Regions from separate parts of the Homo sapiens genome. Here region 2 is linked to region 1. The links are contacts of gene promoters, found by promoter capture Hi-C in blood cells and fetal thymus (Javierre and others, 2016). All regions are on one chromosome and are shown on one strand. The core of a region is centred on a gene start or on the middle of the fragment in contact, and the rest is flanking DNA. Distances in the headings are between cores, read along the strand shown. Region 1 holds the start of DUSP4 (dual specificity phosphatase 4). Region 2 has its middle 48 kb from the start of LINC02948.

Region 1 (7,768 bases), core at 2,239-4,738:
AAACCACATTTGCTCCACTGCACTGGCTTCCAGGCATGGAAGGGAGGTGTATCTGGAGACCTGGGAGACACCTTGATTTCCTTCCCCAGCCCCTTCCCGCAGAGCTGTGGGAGCAGATACTGACTTTTTCCTTCTGACCTCTCTAGGGATGCCTTTCCATTAGAGGGCAAAGAGGAAGAAGAGGAACTGGGTTAAAGATGGCCTCTGCTGAACACATATGTCAAAATCAGCTAAGCTAAACCGAATAGGGCCCAGTTAACCTCAACGATGTTCACCACAACAGAGCAGGCTGGAAGATTCCCCCACCTCTCAATTTTAGGTGCTTGCTTCCAAGGGCAGGCTCCCTTTGGAAGCAGAAGCTGAACTTCTGGCTAGGAGGGGCTATTCTAGAAGAGACCGAAGCTAAATCTGTGGCCCAGGCCTGCACACCTCCATCTGCAAGGATGTCCACTTTGAGATGCAGAAGATGATTCTCCCTGCCCGCGTCGGGGCCGACTACGAGAGGCAGTGCAGGCTCCAGGAGGAAACAGCCCTTAAAGTACTTCTCTTATGTTGGCCAGGCACCTCGCCACCCACCAGAGGGCTGTCATTTTACCTAGAGGCCTGTACTACCCAGTCACTAGCCTCGCCCAGAATCTCCAGGGCTCTCGAATCGGTCTGGCTGGGGAAATGGAGGAGGTTGGGGAGGGAGGACTCTCAACGGGATTCACGAGGGACAGGGAAATGCCGCGCGCCCTGGGGATAAATCTTAAAAAATAATCCCTCTCTCCCCGGGAGCGGGGCCTAAGTGGCTGCACCCCCGGAAGCCCAAGGGCCGAGGTCCTGGAGCTGCCGCTCTAGGGCGGTCCCCTCGGGATTTCTTCCAGGAAGGAAAGCAAAACACAACAAAACAAATCCAGACTCCACGTGGGGCTGGAACCCAGTCCCAGCCCTGCTGTGTTCTAGCTGGTCCCGGGTTTGGACGCCAGCGAAGGAAGGCGCGCCCGCGCTCTCCATCGGGGGGACTCGAGGGCAGCGCCGTGCGGGGAACATCCCGGCCAGCCCCGGCCATTCGAGGGGACTTGCGTCCCAGAGGAATTGCCCTCATCTCTCCCACCAGCGCCGACAAGCTCAAACAATGGCGCGGACGCCCACCCTGGTGGCCTAACCAGGACCTGGCCCCGCTCAGCCGCCAGGCCTTCCGGGACAAGCCCCTTCCTGGCACTTTCTCTTGGAGCGCTTTGGGGAGAAGGGAGGGGGACTGGGCTCATTTGGAGGAGCAAAAGACAGCCCTCGCGGAAAAAGAAAGAAAAATCAGCAAAATCGCCTTAGCAGTTCAACCAAAGGTCAACAGCAGCGTTTCCCCAGCAGCTGACAGGTCAAATGGGCAGGAAACAACTGCGGGGAACAAAGCCCCCCGCTGTCCGGCAGGGGCGAACCCGGCTCCTCCGCACTGAACAGTTTTGTTGTGCTTTTTGGAGGGGAGAGGTTTCCGCCCCCTTTCCAGCTCCCTTCCTCCCGGGTGGACAGGTCGGAAGAGGAGCGGAAAGGAAAGGAAGGGAGGGAGGCGGCGAAGGCGCCTGCGGGGGGGAGGAGCGGCTCTTTGATGGGTGTGGGGGGGTCTGAACTGCCTACCGGGCTCGGAAGCGCAGACCCTACCCGCGCGGAAGAATGCGCGGAATGCGGCGGCGGGAGGCGGAGGCGCAGCGCGGCGGGGGGCGCCCGGACCCCACGCGCCCTGCCCGCTCCCTAGCCCGAGGGCCGCGGACCCACCCTGCCCTGCAGGTGTGGCGGGCGCCAGGTCCCTCCAGGGACTCGGACAGCACGCGATTTTTCCAGGATTTCCGACTACCAAATGTGACAAGACAGTCTCGCCGCCGAGAGTTTCGCCAGGGCTCGCTAAAATCCGGCACGCGCCGCCATCAGATAGTCGAAAATCCGGGCTGAACAAAAGGTGATCATTCTCCGCTGCCCGGATTTGCAGGCGCTAGAGGACCGGTTCCGCCCGGCGTCCCCCAGATACCCAGTCCTTCAGCCTCCCGCTCCCAGAGCCTGGATCTAGCCCGGGACGGGGATTGGCCACCTTCCAAGCTGAGCTTGGAGTTGGGCAGCGGGAACGCAGATACAGATCGCTCTACACAGTGTGTGCAACCCAATCTCCCTTTCTGCATTTGCCAGGGTCTTGTTTTCAGTGAAACTGGCAAGGCCAATTGTACCTCGGCGCCCACCCCTCTTCACCTTTTCTCCACCTCTGGGATTCTCCCGGTCCGGCTCAGTGTAGGGCCCCAGCACGCCAAACCAACAGGCCTATCTTGTCCCCACGCGCCCCGTGGTACTTGGAAACTGTTCCCGGGACTCAAGATGGACCGCGCAGAGGAGTCGCTTCATCCTCGAGGCTAGGACCGTTAATGTCAATAAACGGGGCCTCGCTAGGACGGTGCGGAATTGCAGGTGACCGGAGAAACCCGTCCGCACTTTCCCTGAGGACTTGAACCTCGCACTTGCACAGAAACCTTGCAAACCCCTACACACCAACACACACAAAGGGGCGCGCGGGGATCCCCGCAACCACGAATCACGCCGGGGACTCCTTCCCGTGCCAATAAGGCGCAGGCCGCCAAGACCCCCTCCATCTCCCCGACTCCAGCTAGCGCCCGGAGCCCTCGTTTACCTTTGAGCAGGCAGATGTCGGTGCGCTCGGCGTTGCGGCGCAGCGCCTGCACCACCAGCGACACGGTGCTGTCCTCGCGGAGGCTCTCGGCGCGCGGGCTGCGCTCGTCGTAGACGATGACCGCCGAGTAGAGGCCGGAGCGCAAGCGGGCGCGTACCTCCTCCTCGGCGGGCAGGATCTGCTCCAGGCTCACGGAGCCCTTAGCCCGCCGCCGCACGATGGTGTTACAGCGCACGTTGACCGAACCTAGGATGTAGCCCGCGCTGTGCGCCAGGAACGGTCTGCAGTCCAGCAGCAGGCACTTGCCGCCGCTCGGCAGCCCCAGGGTGCCGTGGCTGCCGCTGCCGCCCGCGCCGCCGCCATTCTCGTCCCGGTTCATCAGCCTTTTGAGCACACTGCAGTCCATCTCCCGCAGCTCCTCCATCGTCACCATGGTCGCCGGGAACCGAGGCGGCTGGGCGCGCGAGGAAGAGAAGAGAACCCGGGCCGCCTAGGCTGCAGAAAGGGGCGGGCGAGAGCTAAGAAGGGACGCCTGCAGAAGTGGCCGCAAACTTGGTCCTCAAGGGCTCCCGCGGGAGAGCCTCTTCTTCCCTGTCCCCTTCCTCCCGCAGCCTCGCGGTCACATAGCAGTCGGAGCGGCCTCGGGCGCCCAGCCGGGCGGCGCGCAGAGCGGAGGGGGAGGCGCCGGTGGAGGAGAGTGTGTTTACGAGAGAGGACCGCGGACTCTTTTCGGCGACGGCCTCCCGTGTATTTTTGCCGGTCGCGCGGCTCCTGTCGCCACTGGCGCCAGCGCTGCCCTGCCTACGCTCCTCCGGCGCTCAGCGCACTGCCCCAGCCAGAGTTTTCTCCTCGGCTTAGAGGTTTATTAATGCTCCTCCGCGCTCCCGGGGGAGGGGGCGCTAGGTACTACCCCGCCAGGCCCCGCCCCGTTCCATTCCGGGCCCCGCGCCGTCCCCCGCCCCCCGCGCTGTCCCCCGCCCCCCGCGCTGACTCCCCGCCCCCTCCGGGCCCCTCCTCCCACCCCCTCCCCGGAGCTTGAATGGAGCGCGGCCGCTGGCTCCCGGTCACGGGAACTCGACGTCACAAAGAGCGGAGTAAACAGGGCGCCGGGTGCTCGCCATCAGGCCCATTCATAAAACCGAGGCCGAGAGGAAGAGGGAGGCGGCCTCCGACCCGCCGCCAGCGGCGGGCAGCGCCCGGACTTTGTGAATGGAGCGCGCGGCGCCTTTCGCCGTCTACCCGCGGGCCCAGCCTGCGCCGCGCCTCCAGCCCGACACCGGCACCTGTGCCGCCGCTGCACCCCGCCGCTAGGCGGGCGGCGCCAAAGGAAATAGCCGGCTGAGGAGGCCAGGGCTCGGGTTTGAGCTTTCATCCCTTGGCACCTTCGCGCTTCCCCGCGTGACAGCCCCGTAGGTTTTTCCCGGTTACCCAAGTGGAGAGGGGACCGGAGCGCTGCTGCCCACCCAGCGGGGCCTGACACCTCCTAGCCCCAGACTCCCCGTGCGCTTTCGGCCCGGCCAGTCCTTTCTGAATATGCGATTCCTGAGACGTTAGCGTATGCATTAGCGTGATCGATTTTCATCTAAAGCCATTAAATCAGTTTTATAGCTTCCCCAAGAACGTGGGCAACCCCCTGCTTGGAAGATGAAAGAGAAAGTCCTCCCGCCCGAAGCCCAGGATCGGAGTGAGGTGTGGGGTTTGTTGCTTTACTACCCAAAGGGAGGCATTAATTGCCGGAATGGTGTTCCGAGGGAGGAGAGCAGGCTGCGCTCCTGTCCACGCTTCCTAAAAGATGTTTATTTAACCCTGGTCGGGGGAAAAACAAGGTTTTCGGGTTTGGGAAACGTCTTCACCCTATCTTGCATAGTTGTGAATTATCCTTTCAGGAAATGACAGGGTCCACATTTGTTGCGGAGCTGGACCCTGGAAAATGTACCCGCAAAGAATGACCTTTTGAAAGGACTTCAGCAGCTCTGGGTCCGATTCATGTTTCTGGGCATCCCTTTTTCCTGGTCACGTAGCAGCCCTCCCCATCCCCATTTCTCTTTTGCATTTAATTTCCCAGAGGCGGCTTTTGGCTGGGGGTTTGTGCACGCACGCGGTGGGGACCGTGCAGAAGCCAAAAATCATTCGCCCGACATCTTGCCAAGTCTTGTTAGTGAGAATTAATCACAGAGCAAGGGAGTTACAGGACTCGCTCGCAGTTTCGGAGGCTGCAGAGTAGCGTATTCCATTCCGGGGCGCGCGTGGAAGCCCGACCCAGGCAGCGAGGGCACCGGTACCCGCCGGGTCTCTCCCGCCCAAGCTCACCCTCTCCCCATGCCTTTGTTCCGGGCGGAGCGGCTTTCCCGAGCTCTCACCTCCGGTCCCGGGGGCCATCCCTGCACTCCCCGACCGGAGCTCGGCGGAGCCTCCACTTCCGAGACCTTCGACTGGCCTCGTCCCCCACTGGGCCCCGAATGCCTCGACCCCCGGGCCCTACTCGGATGAGCTGTAGGGGCACCGCTTGGGCAAGGTGATATTTCCTTTTGCTCCGGGCTCCAAAATGGCTTACGATGGCACTGCACGGATCCTTTCTCTTTTTAAAATTTAGTATTTTATTCATCATGGATTTTTTGCATTTTTTTTTCTTTTAAAGAGGCATTGCATCAAGATATTTCTTTTGATTACTGACTTTTCGGCGCCCTTCTTAAATGTTGCGCTCAAGGCTTGTGCTCACCCTAGTCCAGGCCCTGGAAGGAGCCACAACTGTGGACTGACCGAGGCTGCCCGGTGGCAGGACCCTGGGCGTCGGGCACTCCGGGTGGGAGATCAGTGGTCAAAGCCGCACGGCGTGGCCTCCCTGTGGGGAGGGCAAAAGGTGTCTGAGTCCAGTTTCCCATTCTGCTGAATGGGACTGTGGGGGTCTATCTAATAACTCGCTTTCGATAAGGAGCAAGGAGCCCCAGGGGCCCCGACAGTCCAAGGCTGATTTTGCTTTCCCGGGTTGCTCTCCAGCAGCTCAGAAATCCGCCGCCTGCCAGGACCCAGGGCCGGAGCTCTCCCGGCGCAAGTAAACACTGATTCCTTTACAAAGGCTTTAACAAGACATTTCTGGGAAAAGCCTCTCAGGAGGCAGGTCCGGGCCAATTTCACGCGTGTCGCAGGAGCTGGGGAGACGTCCCTGGGGCGCACGGGTCGCGCTCTGGGCCAGCTTTTGTCTACCCTGTTCTGGGGTCGCCTTCCCCGCCGGACCCGCGCCTGGCGCTCACGTGGCCAGTAAATAACAGTCAAATCCAGGGGGAGGAAAATGCCCATAGAACAAAGAGGCTTGCTTTCTGCACCTGACAGTAATCGCTGGTGGAGAAGCCCTAAATCCCGCAGGCGATTCACACGGAAAGGGGTGTGGGAGGGCGCGTGTGAGTGTGTGTGTCCACGTGTGCGTGCCCGCGCCTACGCGGCTGTTCACTGGAAGGGAGTCACAGCTTGGGACTTAATGTGTTTAAGCCGAGAGCCACTTGAATTGCGAAAGCGAAGGCCTGATTTTTAAAAAAGACTAATTTTTAAAATCCACACCCCATTGCCAACTCAGGAATTGGCCTTCAGTTGTGTGAATTTCAGCAAAGGAGATTTAAGTTACCATATTGTATTTATCGGGATACTGTGTAAACACCCTAGATATATATTTTTTAATTGTATGTTTGTGAACCATTGGTCCACAGTTAAATGAGTACAACGCGAGGGCTACTCCATGCCGGCTATAGATAAAACCTGTCTCCAATTCGTCTGCAGTCTGTGGACGAAACATAACCATTTTAAACAGGAACCTTGTGAAACAGCTTGTCAATGAGCAGATCTTGGAGAAAACAAAGGCAATTTGGAGCAAGACACGGAATGTCATTTCAAAGTTAATTTAATTAACTAAGGCATATTTGTAGGAATTGGGATGGGATTGCCCAAGGAGAGGTCTTTTATTTATATTCAGCAGTAAACCTCGGGGTGAAAGAACTTTTAAAAATTCGCTGTGACAAGTAAATCCAGCTTCTCTTTCATCAGTCAGTCCTTAGACCGACCTTATTAGTCACTGTCAGGCTCCAGCAAAACACCTGCTCTTGTTTAGGAACATTTCTTTCCAATTAGGAAGTTGTATGATCGGGGAATCTAAAGCCCGGAGTAGAATCCCCAGAGAGAAGTACAGCTTCTATTCTAGTTTTGATGCCAACCTCTGACTCACTGCTCTGTCCCAAAGTGCCTGAATAAAACTTGCCTGAAAAATCATTAATGAATTAATTAAGGTGGTGATGGAAAGAAAAGTCCTGTGGCTTTTCCTTTCTTGAGCAAAGAGGCAGCCTTGCTATTACGTCGAACTGGAACAGGAATAATCCATTTTGCACAGATCTTGTTGGTTAGGCTTCTTAGATCAACTAATTAGGGAACTTGCCCCCTGGTAGTGGGAAGGCTCAAAAGAACTGGGAGACCCTCTCCTGCTCCTGAAAGCAGAGAAGCCTGTGGTCTACACAGCGTGTTCTTAGGCAACGTTTAGAAATGGAATTGAGAAATGCCTGTCCTTCCCTACGTACCTCTGCCCATCAAGTCAGGACTGAAAGCGAAGGAAAGTCTTCAAAGTTCACACTGAACCTAACCAAAAACTCTCAAAGACATAGCCTGAGGATTTCTTTTTTTAAGTCCTGACTTTGTTACAGATCTTTTTTGTTTTCTATGCTTGATACTCTAGCACTTATTAATGATTTAAAAGGCTATGTATCGGCCAGGCGAGGTGGCTCACGCTAGTAATCCCAGCACTTTGGAAGACCGAAGTGGGCAGATCACCTGAGGTCAGGAGTTTAAGACCAGCCTGGTCAACATGGTGAAACCCTGTCTCTTCTAAAAATACAAAATTAGCCAGCATGACGGGCGCGCACCCATAATCCCAGCTACACTGGAGGCTGAGGCAGGAGAATCGCTTGAACCCGGGAGGTAGAGGTTGCAGTGAGCTGAGATCCCCTCACTGCACTCCAGCCTGGGCGACAAGAGCAAAACTCCATCTCAAAATAAATAAATAAATACAAATAAAAAATAATAAAAGATTAAGTTTCTAACCCAGGGTCTCTGCAGAAAGGTTTTAATGCATTGCTTTAT
Region 2 (7,768 bases), core at 1,754-4,253, 260 kb after region 1:
CTGGAACCCGGGAGGCGGAGGTTGTGGTGAGCCGAGATCGTGCCACTGCACTCCAGTCTGGGTGACAGAGAGAGACTCCATCTCAAGAAAAATAAAAAATAAAAAAAGAAAGAAGAAGCAGCTAAAACCATACACACATTGCCCTGGAAGGGAACAGTCTGGGTCCAGAGGCTTAGCATTCTTACTCATTTGTCCCGAGTCCACTTTTGAGGGATCACGTACCTGTTATTCAGTCTTCCTGGTTTTTAATTGTGATCCCAATTCAGGAGATAGAAATGAAGCAACCCAGCATTCAGTTAAAGGTAATAATATGCATTTTCCTTTAACTGTTTCTTCAATCTCAGTACTCAATGCTAATACTCAGTAAGTAATCTCGTTGCTCACGAAGAGTGCAACCATTGTGATTCAGTTGATTTTAAAGCCTCATGAGATGACCTTGTAACACTGGAAGAGACCTTACTTTTGAAATAGGGTTGACTTTTTCTTAAGAAAGAGAACACGACCCCTGGTTGCCTAGTATTGCCTTCTCCTCTGCTGTAGGATATATAAAAATAAATGTGGTCTGTTTACCCCTCCCCATAGATCAGGAAATACCAAACTCTAAGGTTCTGGGGCAATGGTTAGCCCTGCCTTTGGCTCCATGCCATGTCAGGATATGATTTGAATGGCTCTAATATAGTTTGCTCCTATCAAAGTCATGCCTTCTTTTTGAGTCAATTACTCAGCTAAAGATTGGGATAGAGAGAATTAATGGAAATTGTGGAAATTGAAGTTCAAAAGGCTAGATTCTCATCCATTGTTTGGCCCTCATGCTTGACCTTTTATTCAGATTCTTTATTTTGACAAGTTATTCTTTCTGAACTTGAACTTGTGCTAAGGCTTTAGGACTATTGTTGGCTTACTAGGAAACAATAATTCCAAGCATGCTAGACTCCCTGCCTTCCTTCACACTGTTTACTTTGCCCGGAATGTACTTCCTTCCATGTCTGCATATCCAAATGCCACCCACCCTCTTCGAGGTTCTGTGTAAATATTCCTACCTTCCTGAAAGCTTCCCTGGGTCCCTCCAGCTGCCAGTTGCAAGACAGTGGGTAGTAGCAGAGAGCAAGGATTCTGAAACCAGACCAATGCGATTCACATCCCAGCTCTGCCACCTCCTAGCCATGGGACTTTGGCTATGTTTCTTACTGTATCTGTGCCATAGTTTCCCCATCTGTAAAAAGAGGACAATAATAGTACTTATCTCATAGGTTGTTAGGAGGATTAAGTGAGCTAATATATAGTAAGTGCTTAGAACCATACTGGATACATAATGTTTGTTAAAATAAATCATATTTTCTTTTCTGAACTGTTAGCATTTCAATTATATCTTTTTTTTTTTTTTTTTTTGAGATAGAGTCTTGCTTGGTTGCCCAGGCTAGAGGGCAGTGGTGTGATCTCTGCTCACTGCAAACTCCGCCTCCCGGGTTCAGGTGATTCTCCTGCCTGAGCCTCCCAAGTAGCTGGGTTTACAGGTGCCCACCACCATGCCTAGCTAATTTTTGTATTTTAAGTAGAGATGGGGTTTCACCATGTTGGCCAGGCTGGTCTCAAACTCCTGACCTCATGATCCACTGGCCTTGGCCTCCCAAAGTGCTGGGATTATAGGCATGAGCCACCACACTCGGTCTCAATCCTATCTTTTATAGTGCTTATCAATGTCTGCTTTCTATTACACAAATTATCTTCTCTCCTTTTCTAGCCTGAAAGTTCCTGGAAGGAAACCTGTGTTTGTTTCAGCTCCATATCCTTGTGAATCCTCAAAATTTGAGAAAGGTCTCAGTTAATTTAGAGAGTTTATTTTGCCAAGGTTGAGGATGTGCCCGTGACACAGTCACAGGAAGTCCTGAGGACATGTGCCCAAGGAGATCAGGGCAGAGCTTAGTTTTACACATTTTAGGGAGACATGAGACATCAATCAATATATGTAAGAAGTACACGAGTTTGGTCTGGAAAGACGGGACAACTTGAAGCAAAGGCAGGAAGACTCAAAGCCAGAGTGAGCTTCCAGGTCACAGGTGAGATGCAAACAGTTGCATTCTTCTGAGTTTCTGATTAGCCTTTCCAAGAAAGGCAATCAGATATGCCTCTATCTCAGTGAGCAGAGGGGTGGCTTTGAATAAAACCGGAGGTAGGTTTGCCCTAAGCAGTTCCCAGCTTGGCTTTTCCCTTTAGCTTAGTGATTTGGGGGCCTCAAGATTTATTTTCCTTTCACATCCCTCACAGTACCTCGCACATGGTAGACACTGCATAGATAAATATCTCTTTTTTTTTTTTTTTTTTTGAGATGGAGTCTCACTCTGTCACCCAGGCTGGAGTGCAGTGGCGCGATCTTGGCTCACTGCAACCTCAGCCTCCTGGGTTCAAGAGATTTTCCTCCTCAGCCTCTGGAGTGGCTGGGACTGCAGGCGCATGCCACCAGGCCTGGCCAATTTTTTGTATTTTTAGTAGAGATGGGGTTTCACCATATTAGCCAGGATGGTCTCAATCTCCTGACCTTGTGACCTGCCCGCCTTGGCCTCCCAAAGTGCTGGGATTACAGGCGTGAGCAATAAATATCCACTGAGTGCTTTCCATGGTAATTGTTTTGGCTTGATCCTCTCATTGCAAGTTACCAAATCTATAACTCAAAAGGGCATCATGTGTATTGTCTTCCCTATCCATAAATATTTGTTTATTTCCAATCATTCCTTTGGATAATGTTCTAGAAAATCTTTCAGAGGAAACACATTGGGATGTGCATCCTGCCAAAACTAGTTCATATCATGGGCACAGAAAGCTCGAAATTGAAGTAAGGAAATATGTCAATGTCAGCTTCAATGTCAGCTTCCCAGGATGCCTGCTTCCTAGTGGCATTGCTGCAAGGTTCAGAAACTATTGTCAGTTTCTTCAGGTGTGGCAGGCCAGGTCTCACTAACAACGGTTTCAGTACTGTGTGGTTATGTTAAATATTGAAAGCCAGTGCCCTCATGCAAAGGCTGGGATATAACAAAAGCCCATCAAGAGTTTTGCCTAGGCCTTTCCTGTGCCTTAAAGCATGACAAAATAATGGAGGAACTCTTAACAGGATCCATTTAGGATTAAACAAGTTTTATGGGGGGTCCGAAGAAACTCCCCAGGCCTCCACAAACAAGAAACTCCTCAAAGGTCCGTGGTTTAGCAGGAGACAAGATAAGGGTAATCACCCCAGCGCCTGGACCCATTTAGATTAAGTAAATTTACTGAGGCTCCAGAGGAAGGTCTTCAGGACTCAGACCTTAGTTATAGATTAAAAGAAGTTAATCGCTTATGGTTTTAGAAGAATGCACATTTACACATAGACATATAGCTTAGAAGATATATAACCTCTGGAAATATACCATTCCAGATAACCATTGTAATTTTGCATTGGCCTGGCGATAATTTCCAGGCCTTCTCCCTATAACCAGTTACAGAAACAAAAATAGCAAATCATCAATTTTTAGTGAAAACTAGATTTCCAAAGGAGGTCCTGAAAGGCTCTTGTTGGCAGGTTTGCACATTCTCTTTCCATATGGAAATGTACTTAAGAAGCCAAATCAATGTGAGAAAGCTGCCTAGTGGGTATAGAGTTTAATAAAGAAATTAGGCCTTCAAGCTATCATTGCTTGATATATCCATTCTCCCTAGAGGGAATGCAGTCCAGAAGGGGCAGATGCTCTGCTCTCATCAGCACTGGAGACACCAACACATTCTGATAATTTCTCTCTCCATTTCCAGTATTCCTGGCCAGTTTTTGTTGTTATTGTTGTTGTTTTGTTTTTTGTTTTTGTTTTTGTTGTTTTGAGACAGAATCTCTCTCTGTTGCCCAGGCTGGAGTGCAGTGGCGCAATCTTGGCTCACTGCAAGCTCCGCCTCCCGGGTTCACGCCATTCTGCCTCAGCCTCCCAAGTAGCTGGGACTGCAGGCGCCCCCCACCATGCCCGATTTTTTTTTGTATTTTTAGTAGAGACGGGGTTTCACCGTGTTAGCCAGGATGGTCTCGATCTCCTGACCTCGTGATCTGCCCGCTTCGGCCTCCCAAAGTGCTGGGATTACAGGCGTGAGCCACTGCACCCTGCCAAGTTATTAAAACTTCTATAATGATACTACTTGTCAAAACAGATATGCTTCAGTTTCCAAGATTATAACATCTTTCATTTTGCTGTCTAAACGAAGGTCTTCCTTTTGGAGAGGTATTCTAAATCTTTGACTAATGTTTAGAAAAGGCTCTAGCCTCGTTAGCAACACATTTACATCTGTCTTTGGTGTGTAATTTTTTAGGGAGTGGAAGATAGGAAATACCCAGTTTTTCCTGGATGCCTGTTAGTTTCAAGTTGTGATGGTGACAGATTCTAACCTTCATCCCCATACTCAAGAGACTACCCATTTGAATCTCACAGTTTCAAAAACCGTGAATATAGCTGGCACCTTAGTTTCACTGGAAGGCCAATGCCTTCTATTCAGCTAGTAATTTTCATCTGTTGAATCTGGTTCTAATTTAAAATATCAGTAGGCTCTATAGCTAAAGAAGTCATTTCTATAGTTTTAGAACACACAACTGCAATTTCCCCAGTAAGTTGGAGGAGATACTGTGTGGTTACATAAAAGTGTTTTGTTTTTGTTTGTTTTATTTTAAATATACCTGAACTCCTTGAACAACAGTGAAATTAAGAGAATGTGCTTTCAGTCCAGAGCTTGCTGGTAGGTTACATCCTCCAACTCAGCATGTGCCACACTTTTGTGGTTCCTAAAGGTCCCGGGAACAGAAGGACACAGTCACAGACGTCCCTCTGTTCTCAGCTAATTAAGTAAGTAAGCTCTACCAGCTCTGTTCTCTCCACATCCTCACCCACGCCACGTCATTGTCATTCCTTGAGCCAGAGTCCTATGTTCTCATAGAGAATCGGGCTCAATAGGAAGCTTTTATTTGAAAGGCAAAAAGAAAGCTTATGTTTCAGGAGGTGTTTCAATGAGAAGATTTCAAGAGTGTTAGTGGTTGAACGTAATTTCAGCTGCATTAAATTCTGGAGGCAGGTTTTGCTTTAGGCTTCTGGAAATAAGAGTCATAGATAAGGATGAGAATAAGTGTTAAACACAATTCTGAAATCCCCTTATTTTGCAGAGAAGGAAAATTAGTCCCAGAGAAGTGAGGTACCTTATCCGAGGTCACAGAACTTCTTAGTGACGGAGATAGACCTTGAGTCTCGAGGCCTCCTGTTTTTCCAACTAGATCTCACATAACGGGAATTGCAAATGCTGGATAATTTCATTTGCAATTACTAACTCCTAACAATGTTAGTTAAAATTAACTAACTCCTTGAGCACATTGTAGATTTTTTTCCTGCTTATATACATATGTACACAAGAAAACACCGCAATATGCAATATACAGAAAATGTATGCAATATAATTTTGGTAGAAATTTTGACTTAATCCTACAGAAACTATTTCTTGAGAGATTATTACATACCACTTCCTACATCCAATGTGCCTTGAGCTAAAACTGTGAACAAAACCAACATTGATTTCGCTTCATGGAGCTCACACTAAGTGGAAAATGCAGATCAGCAAAAAGGCAGGAAAGGGGGACTGTGATTAGGAAGGGATCCCTGAGAGGTTGGGTGGGGATAATCATAGAGGGCAGCTTGGAGGAAGAACTGTTGTCTAGAGGAAAACCTGAAGGTGAGAGGATTTAGGGATCACACTTGTTGGCATGCCAGGTTGATTTCCTGTTGGTTTCTGTGTGCTGTTTCCTGGGCTCGGAAAGCCCCCAACACCTTGCTGTATCCACATTCTCATCTCCTCTCCCCGTTGATCTCTTGGTCATCTTTTCCTTCTGGGGGCAAGTGTCACCCCTTCAGAAACTCCCTTTCATCCAGAACAGACAAGAGGTCTTTACTCTGGGTCCCTATCAAGTTTTGTTCATCCTTTATTATAACCATTATCATATGCTAAAAATACATGCTTGCCTCCCTGTCTTCTCCAGTAGCTTTCAAGCTCTTAGAAAACAGGGACTTTGTCCTACTCATGTACTTGTGGACATAGTACCAGGTACAGGGCAGGCATTAAATCAATGTTGATATTTGCTGAATGCAGTGACTGGCATTGGGGTACCCTACAGCTCTCCTCACGCTGTCTCTAAACCACCTTTTCTCCTCCGGATTACATTTGAAGCCCCTCATTTGTAAGAGTCACTATTAGTAAAAACCTTAGGGTTGCCTCATCAAGAGAATGAGAAAGAAAATCTGTCAGAAGAGTAGACAGTCACCACCAGGGTAGGCATGTGGCTGCCTCATGCAGGGCCAGGGCCAGGGCCATGGCTGTGCCTTTCTTCTCTCCCAAGCTAGAGAAGAACGGAGGCTGCGGACTGCCCCCAGCGAATCCCAGTGCCCACATCATCCTGTGGAGAAGCCTTGACTACCCCCAAGCTGAGTCCTGACGGGACAGACGAGTGAGATCCAACTTCCCTTGCACTTCTGGTGATTTATATTGGACTAGAGTCTTCACCAGGGAACCTGTGGACCAAAATCAAAAATTATTTGAAAATTCTGAAGCCAGGCAAACATTTGTGGGTAGCGTGAGAAGAAAAAGATGAACTGTCTGTGCGGAGCAAAGAGAAATGTGCCCTGCTTCCTGATTGGGTGGTCGTGGTGATGGTGGGGCCATCTTTGAAAGAAGAGACTGCTGCTCAGAGCCTTCTGTGTTCTTGATTGCACTGTTCTATTAGCTAAATCATAAGAATTTTTTTAAAGCTTGTTTTTAATACTTAACTGGTACATTAGAACTAGTTTTATTTATCTAGAGATTTTAAAAGGCCCAAAGGCCACAGCCAGCTGCATCGTCCTTGTTGGAATGGATTAGTTTCCCTGTTTATTCATTTCCTACTCACATGTTAAGAGTTGTCCTTTCCATTTGAAAAGTATCTACGTCCACAGTAACTGCCCAGGATTGGCAAACTCCACTGGAGACGCAGCATGTGGAAGAGGAATTAGCTTAACTGGCTGTCCTTGTTAACATTGCCCCAGTTGTCATAAGCTTTTGTCTACCACATATTATCTGTGATATGGAGACAGAAGTCTCACTTCTTTCTGAGCCTGGCTTCTGTCTGTGCTAGGTAACTTTTTGCACTATTCTATTGAGAAGTGAAGCCAGTTGGACTTCCAGGGTCCAGTGGGGACTTGGAGAACTTTTCTGTCTTACAAGAGGATTATAAAATGCACCAATCAGCACTCTGTAGTTAGGATTGTAAAACGCACCAATCAGCACTTTGTGGCTAGCTAGAGGTTTGTAAAATGCGCCAATCAGTGCTCTGTAAAAATGCACCAATCAGCGCTCTGTGTCTAGCTAGAGGTTTGTAAAATGGACCAATCAGCACTCTGTAAAATGTACTAATCAGCAGGACATGGGCGGAGACAAATAACGGAATAAAAGCTGGCCACACCCAGCCAGCAGCGGCTACCCGCTTGGGTCCCCTTCCACTGTGTGGAAGCTTTGTTCTTTTGCTCTTCACAATAAATCTTGCTGCTGCTCACTTTTTGGGCCCGTACCACCTTTAAGAGCTGTAACACTCACCCTGAAGGTCTGTGGCTCCATTCCTGAAGTCAGCGAGACCGCGAACCCACTGGAAGGAAACAACTCTGGACACAATATCTATGCCCTCAGTCATTCCAGCAAACTTGTTCGGTATGGACATTTCTTAAATGGAAATAGCTACTGGCTGGGCGTGGTG

Evidence for each region. Contacts are between HindIII fragments. The CHiCAGO score rates a contact against its expected background, and 5 or more counts as called.
Region 2: a contact is called between a fragment that was not itself captured here and the fragment with the promoter of DUSP4 in region 1, in 1 of 17 cell types (endothelial precursors). The highest score is 5.2, in endothelial precursors.

Annotation. Positions count from the first base shown.
Region 1 is chr8:29,347,196-29,354,963 of GRCh38, forward strand. It overlaps DUSP4 (dual specificity phosphatase 4), which reads right to left and starts at 3,489. Exons shown (of 4, transcript NM_001394.7): 1 at 2,651-3,489. The coding sequence starts at 3,083. It overlaps LOC124901924 (a long non-coding RNA gene), which reads left to right and starts at 3,779. Exons shown (of 2, transcript XR_007060876.1): 1 at 3,779-4,339. RefSeq lists silencers at 1,607-1,776, 3,347-3,666, 3,857-3,996 and enhancers at 2,487-2,988, 2,517-2,666, 2,989-3,488, 4,187-4,256, 4,297-4,406. The HindIII fragment of the contact is 21,736 bases long and covers 1-7,768 here.
Region 2 is chr8:29,606,523-29,614,290 of GRCh38, forward strand. No RefSeq gene overlaps it. Among named protein-coding and RNA genes, the nearest start is that of LINC02948, 48 kb to the left of the region's middle. The HindIII fragment of the contact is 3,908 bases long and covers 1,050-4,957 here.